2 separate regions of the Homo sapiens genome follow, and region 1 is linked to region 2. Evidence: promoter capture Hi-C in 16 types of primary human blood cells and fetal thymus (Javierre and others, 2016). All regions are on one chromosome and are shown on one strand. Each heading gives the region's core, a stretch centred on a gene start or on the middle of the fragment in contact. The rest is flanking DNA. Distances are from core to core; before and after follow the strand shown.

Evidence for each region. Contacts are between HindIII fragments. The CHiCAGO score rates a contact against its expected background, and 5 or more counts as called.
Region 1: a fragment that was not itself captured here is called in contact with the fragment with the promoter of RPSA in region 2 in 3 of 17 cell types (activated CD4 T cells, naive CD8 T cells and non-activated CD4 T cells); the score reaches 6.7 in activated CD4 T cells.

What each region holds. Positions count from the first base shown.
Region 1 is chr3:42,013,079-42,016,821 of GRCh38, reverse strand. It overlaps LOC107986077 (a long non-coding RNA gene), which reads left to right and starts at 3,253. Exons shown (of 2, transcript XR_001740668.2): 1 at 3,253-3,398. It also overlaps a transcript of TRAK1 not described here. RefSeq lists enhancers at 1,486-1,987, 2,381-2,520, 3,501-3,570 and silencers at 2,711-2,780, 2,841-3,000, 3,041-3,110, 3,201-3,320. The HindIII fragment of the contact is 945 bases long and covers 1,168-2,112 here.
Region 2 is chr3:39,404,706-39,408,108 of GRCh38, reverse strand. It overlaps RPSA (ribosomal protein SA), which reads right to left and starts at 1,389. Exons shown (of 7, transcript NM_002295.6): 1 at 1,345-1,389; 2 at 323-488. The coding sequence starts at 455. RefSeq lists a silencer at 1,006-1,185 and enhancers at 1,356-1,495, 877-1,668, 3,254-3,403. The HindIII fragment of the contact is 4,276 bases long and covers 1-3,403 here.

The DNA of each region.
Region 1 (3,743 bases), core at 391-2,890, 2.6 Mb before region 2:
AAATGACTGTTCGCCCTCCAATGCCTTTCTTACTTGAGCCCCAAAGGGTAAAAAAAGAACTGTCCCTTGCAGAAAAACTGGCCACCTATCTGCTTACTCTCCTTGGCTCTCTTATGAGCTATATGGTGCTACAGAACAATCGCATCTATAAAAACTCCGACAGCTGACGGAGAGGAGAATGCCCAAGGTCTGTTCTCTACCTTGGGAGCACGAAGTCAAGATGGAGAGCCCAGATGGTTAATTCAAGAATCACCAAACAATTACAGAGGCCTACTATATACAAGGTCAGAGGCAGGGACTCAGAATGCAACGACAGGGACTGGGAGTGGTGGCTTGCGCCTATAATCCCAGCACTTTGGGAGGTCATGGCCAGCAGATCACTCGAGGTCAAGAGTTTGAGACCAGCCTGGCCAAAGTGGTGAAACCCCGTCTCTACTAAAAATACAAAAATTAGCTGGGCGTGGTGGCAGGTGCCTGCAATCCCAGCTACTCGGGAGGCTGAGGCCAAAGAATCACTTGAACCTGTGAGGTGGAGGCCGCAGTGAGCCAAGATCGCACCACTGCACTCTAGCCTCGATGACAGAGCGACACTCTGACTCAAAAAGAAAAAAAAAAACAAAAAACCAGAATGCAATGACAGGAACAAAGTCCACTTAAGATGGCAAACCTTAAGGTGTTGTTAGTTTGGAAAGTGAAAGTTTAAGAACTCCATTCAATGTGAATAGTGCTCTATTATTTTTGAAAGCCCTTTTATTTTTATGTTTTTTGTTTTTGTTTTTGTTTTTGAGATGGGGTCTTGCTCTGTCGCCCTGGCTGAAGTGCAGTGGCGGGATCTTGGCTCAATGAAACCTCTGCCTCCCGGATTCAAGCTATTCTCCTGACTCACCCTCCTTAGTAGCTGGGATTACAGGTGCCCATCATCATGCCCAGCTAATTTTTGTATTTTTAGTAGAGACGGGGTTTCACCATGTTGGCCAGGCTGGTCTCGAACTCCTGACCTTAAGTGATCCACCTGCCTCAGCCTCCCAAAATGCTGGGAATACACGCACAAGTCACCATGCCCGGCCCAAAGCTCTTTTATATTACCTGATTTGACCCTCATAATAAACCTATAAAACAATAATTACTATTATATGCTTTATTATCCCTGTTGGGGCTCAAAAAGCTTACCAAATTACAAACCCAATCATGTTGGAAGGAGACCTGAAAACGCTCCCATGTCATTCAGTCAAACTTTTACAGACACCTCCATTTAAAACATTGTCTCCCAGAGAGGGGAGAGCAGGACAGAGAGGTTAAGTAAGGTCACACAGCCAATAGAGAGGAGTTGGAATTTCAGTCCAGGTTTCCCACTCCAAGACCACAGAGAAGGAGAAGCAACACAGCCAGAGTGGAGACACCCTCAAGCGAGCGCTGGGGATGGGAAACTGGTCCCTGGGGCATCAAACAGGAAACGGCTGGTGCTGGGGCCAAGCTGAAACCCAACTGTTGCCAAACTCGCAGCCCTGAGACAAGGGCTTTAAACCGATTCAGCATCCCCCAGAGCCGGGCTCAGCTTTCCAGCTGGCTTAGGCTACACTGGGCTGGGAACCTCTGTGACAAAGCTGAGGTCCAAGATCAAAGAGCAACCGAGTATGACCATTCCAAACCGAGAGACAGAGGGGAAGGCGCCATCTGTCACTCCAGGTCCAACTCTCCAAACCTACCAGTCAAGCTCCCAGCCTGTTGTCCCTTCACTCAATCTGGGGAGACCCTCCCCAGTGCAGACTGGCTCCAGGGCTAATCAGAGCTTAGTCTGAGCACCTTCCTCTTCGCTGCTCTTGTAGTTGGAAATTGGAAAGGACCCTGGAACTAGACCGTTTCCCTATGGTAACCTCCACTCTCCTTCCAGATAAACAAAAGACCCTCCAGAAAAGGTTACCAGTCCCGAATACACACTCACAGACAGTATTGACAACGTTTACACTTTTGAAGCAAATAAAGTTCCAGTGAAGCATATCAGAAAAAAAAAAAAATCAGCGGTCCAACGACGAATACTCTGAAGGCTCTCAAAGCGGACGCTAATTTCAGTGTCTGAACAAGTGCAGCCACGGGTTCTAAAACAGGCAAGCTTAAAGCGGAAGGGGCACCCAGCACCAGCCTCAAGAGCAGGCCGACTTTTAACATCTTTCCTGAAACACAACTTTACAAAAGAAGAAACGATACAGTTCATTACATTTGTTTTTACCTGCAAGAGCTTGACCTTGGAGACTAGAAAAGAACTTTAAAAATCAGGTCAAGAAAGTGACAAAGTAAACTTGTTAACTCTCAAGGATGCAAAGGAGGGCTCTAAAGGCTCTCTGCTCTCTGACACGCTCAGATGATGTCATTTTCATCAAGTTTTGCGGGTGAGTGGGAATCGGGGTGCTGCCCGCGCTCAGCTCCAGGCTCTTTGAAGGTCGCCTCACTGTCACCTCGGAGTGCCGGAGCGCGGAATCCAGGCCACGCGGCGTGGCCGACACGATGCCCTAGGGGCACTTTTCCGGGCTCCGAGGGCCTCCTGCAGGTGCGGCCGGTGCATTAGGAGGGCTGTCCCCGCAGGGTCCCGGCGCCCGGCCTCTCACGCCGCCACTATCTCACGCGGACACTCCCAGAACACCCGTGTCCTTCCCCAGCCCCTGGGCCCGAGGCGCAGGCGGCGCGGGTGAGCGGACCCCTGGCTTACCCGCAAGAGGTGCACGGAGCGCAACCCGGCAGCAGGCGCGGTGCCGGGGGGCCTCGGTGGGGGCTTCCTCCGCGTCGTTCTCGGCCCGGCCCCGGCCGCCCGGCGGCTTCGGTTCCCTCCGCTGCAGCCGGCCGGGCGGCACGGGGGCACTCGCGGGGGCTCCGCTCTGGCGCCGCCGCCTCCTGCTGCCCGCCTGCCGCTCTGGCGCTCCTGGGCTCGGAGTCCGGGGTTCCGAGACGCGGGGGTCGTCGGGGCGTTCGAGACTCTCGGGGACGCTAAGGCTGCGCTCCGGCTCTCCCGCGCGCGGCCCCACTCTGGGGGACGCCTCGCTTGAGGCGCGCGGGCGTCAAGGGCTCGGGGCGCGCGGGGGCGGCGGCCGGGTGGGCCCCGGGGCGGCGGGCGGGGGCGCTGCTGCGGACGCGGGCACTGTTGCGGGCGCCGCCGCGCGGCCTCTCGCCATGGCTCCCCCGCGAGCGGGCGGCTTGCACCTCCCCTCCGCGCTGCCGTCACCGCCCGACGCGCGCCGAGCCCTCCCCCTTCCCAGCCCCGCCCGCCGCCCCGCGCCGCCACCTGCGGGCCGCCCTCCAGGATGCCCGCCGGCCACGTCCTAGTCGCCTGGAGCCGCGCCCCGCCTTCCTCGCCCGCGGCTGCCCCTGCACTTTTACCCACGCCGTGGGGCACAGAGAAGTATCCGGTAAAGACCTGGATCCGGAAAAGCTGATCACATCCCTCCCCGAGCGCTTATTTACTTCTAGCACTTCTCGGGGTCCTTCCAGAGTCAGTCTAAGAGAAGGATGGGACCCCCGCGGCCCGGGGCGCTGATTGTCGTGAACACAGTGGAAGTCCAGGCGTTCTGTTCCTGCAGGGCGGGCTGTCTCCTAGCAAAGCCGCCCTTAGGCTTAAATGGAGGGAGGATGGAGCCGGGGACGGGGGGAAGGCTGGAGGGGATGGAACTGGCTGTTGGACTAAGATGCCACCAAAGGGTGACAGGCAGGGGGCTGGCGGACAGCAGAGAGGGGATCAGGAACCGATCCAGGAA
Region 2 (3,403 bases), core at 140-2,639:
TCAAAATTCAGTTCAATAGCCTGTGTAAGTACCTATGAAGTTGAAGGCACTATGCGAGCTATTAGAAACTCAGCCAATGAACTTTCTCATGTTCATGACCCAACCCAAGTCCCGTAACTCAGACAACTGACATATTCCTCCCCTGGAGCAGAAATCTTTTCTCTCAATAACAAGAACATTTATTTAAAGTATGTTTTCAACGTAGGGGTCTGGCTTCATTTAAGGAAGATAGAAAGAAATTACCCAGAACTAACCACGAGAATAGCAAGCTCAAAATTTGTACTTACAGCTGGAGTAACAAAAAATTAAAGCAATGACTAACCATCACTTTTCCTTTTATAGATGTACTGTTCCATCTGGAAGTCAAGATTGGTGCCACCTAAGTGGGTTCCTGCTGCAAGGAACTTAAGGACATCCTCCTCCTTCATTTGCAGGACATCAAGGGCTCCGGACATTGTGAAAATTTCCCTTTAAGTTACGACGGGAATCTGAAATAAGAGAGCAACCTATTTCTTTTCATTCCATTGAGTTAAGTAGGGCACACCCTTAAAAGCAACCAAAAACTCCATCTGCTATAGTGTCAGGCATTGAGCTTACAGTGTAGTGAAGGGTAAACAGAAAGTTAACCCATACATGTCGTGTATTACGGAACAGCGCACATCTTACTGAGGAAATAGTGTGGACGGCAGAGTAACCGAGTAATAAAACTACACGAAATTAGCGAATGGAAATTCAACACTTCTCAAGATAGGAATTAAGGAAAAGTTGTGGATGCGCCAAGTTAACAACTAGATACAAAAGAGCAGCCATGTTTGGAATATGCAAACTAAAGGCAAAAAAGGCATGAATTGTTTTCAGACATTTTCAAGCAGATTGTAGGCGGATGCTTTGGAATTACTTCGCTGTGCTGTCACCACTTGTTTGTCTAAAAACCCGAGAACCTTAACTCCTGACCCGCACGGCGCGAAGGGAAAACCCGACCAGCCCAAGTAGCTGGTGTAAATCAGCGCCTGGGCCTAGACTCACCGCCGTGTGGGACTCCGAAGGGATAGCAACACAGGATGTTAGCCCGCTTTCTGCACTCCCGCCCACCCGCGGCCTGGTCCGAACCCCAGCTCGGAGCCTCCGCTGGAGGGCGGCCTCCACCCGCTCCCGGGGCACTCTGGGAACCCGCCAGCCCGAGCCTGGCCACGTGCGGGCCGCAGGCCTAAGGTGGGGCGCGCCGGGCGGGAGACAGATCCAGTCTGACCGGCTTTCATCACTAGTCTTCTCACCCTTCATTTGAGCAGGAAAAGCTCATTTTTCTAGCCCTGGAAGGCGCCAGGGACGCTACACGGAACTCACCCAGAACAACGCCGTATGGACCCCTCTGCAGGTAGCACGGAAAAGACAGGCGGCAGGAAATGACGTCCTTATGTACTCCGTTGTCAGCCAATGGCAAAGAAAGTCGAGCGGAAGAAGGGCGGAGCCGGAGAAGAACGCTGCCGGGACTGGGCTTTTTCTTCAGGAAGGCGGGCTTGCGCCGCAGGAGCGGGCCTCTGGGCTGTAGCCGGTAGCGGCATCCTGGTCGGATCTGGGGCGCTTGTGACTTTGGGGTTTCTAGTGCCACAGCGACGCCCTGTGCATAATTCCTGTCCAGAGCGCGGAACTCAAGTTAGTCAGCCAGGCGGGGCGTTCTTACCCAGCCCTTGTACCTGCGAATATGAGCGGCTTTCTAGCCTAAGCTGCCATTTTGTTACCTGAAAAGTAGGAAGGTTTGTTCGACACAACAAATTGTTAGGTAAACAAAAACTTGAAGATTTATTTTATTTTATTTTCCTGGAGAACAGTTTAACAGGACGTAATTCAGATTTAAATGTTCACTTAAGGGAAGTTTTCTCTGAAAAAGTTAAAAAAGATAAGATTGAACTGATCGTATGCGTTATGTCTATCTCATGTATCTATCCATCTATCACCTGGGGGAAGTTTCCCTGAAAAAGTTAAAAAGGACAAGATTGAACAGATGGTATGGATTATATCTATCTTTTTTTTTTTTTTTTTTTTGGTAGAAGAAAAATTTTGCAATATCCATCAGTAGGAGATAAGTTTGCCGGGCGCGGTGGCTTGTGCCTGTAATCCCAGCACTTTGGGAGGCCGAGGTGGGTGGATTGCCTGAGCTCAGAAGTTCAAGACTAGCCTGGGAAACATGGGGAGACCCCCATCTCCACAAAAAATACAAAAATTAACCAATCATGATGGTGCGTCCCTGTAGTCTCAGCTACTCAGGAGGCTGAGGCAGGAGGATAGCTTGAGCCTAGAGGTCAAGTCTGCAGTGAATGTGATTGCACCGCTGCACTCCAGCCTGGGCAATAGAGCGAAATTCTGTCTCCAAAAAACAAACAAAAAAATAGGAGTTAATTGAAGGGGCGCGGTGGCTGTAATCCCAGCACTTTCGGAGGCTGACGCGGGCGGATCCCTTGAGGCCAGGAGTTCAAGAGACCAGCCTGGCCAACATGGCGAAACCCGGTATCTACTAAAAATTCAAAAATTAGCCAGGCATGCCTGTAATCCCAGCTACTGGGGAGGCTGAGGCGGGAGAATTGCTTGAACCCAGGAGGCAGAGGTTGTAGTGAGTGGAGATTGCGCCACTTGCACTCCAGCCTGGGCGACAGAGTAAGACTCCGTCAAAAAAAAAAAAAGTGCAGGTTCCTCTCTGGGGCCTGCTGAGTCAATCTGATTTCTGAGCCCACCCTAAAATGAACTCGTAGACCCTTATGGCCACTCTTCCAAAGGACAGCACATCCAGGTTCTCCTGCAAGTGGCTCTGCAGCTCCACTGAAGCCAGTATGATTTTCTGAGGAGCTTGGAAACCCTTGGACCCTAGCACAGGTCACCCCCAGGCTGCTCTGCTTCATCACCCACCAAGGCTGAAGCACCTGGGGCTTGAGGGACAAATTCAGAGAAGTCACAGCCCCTTGCGGCAAATGCAAATGCCTCCCGCTTCTACGCTTTGTTATGGGAAGAGGAGGCATTCAGTTTGTTGGCAGAAACTCAGGCCACAAGCCTCCTCAGAGGCCCCTGAGTCCCAAAACAATGCCCTGCCCCCTGCACCCAAATGTACTCCTGCTTAACCCTTCACGTGTGGATTGGGATTGCTGAGTAGTGAGTGCAGCTCTGCAGGGTTCCTCCAGGGGCCTCAGCCTTGGCATTAGGATCACCTGGGCAGCTTTTAAAATCTTACACCTGGGCTGAATATATCAGAATCTCTGAGTGAGACCCAAGCATCAGTAGCTTTTAAAGCTCTTGTAGGGGCTTCCCCTCCACCCTCTGAGTGTTCACTGCTAAAATGAACTGACAATAGACAAATTAACAGGAGAAGAAACATACACTTTTTTTTTTTGAGACGGAGTTTTGCTCTTGTTGC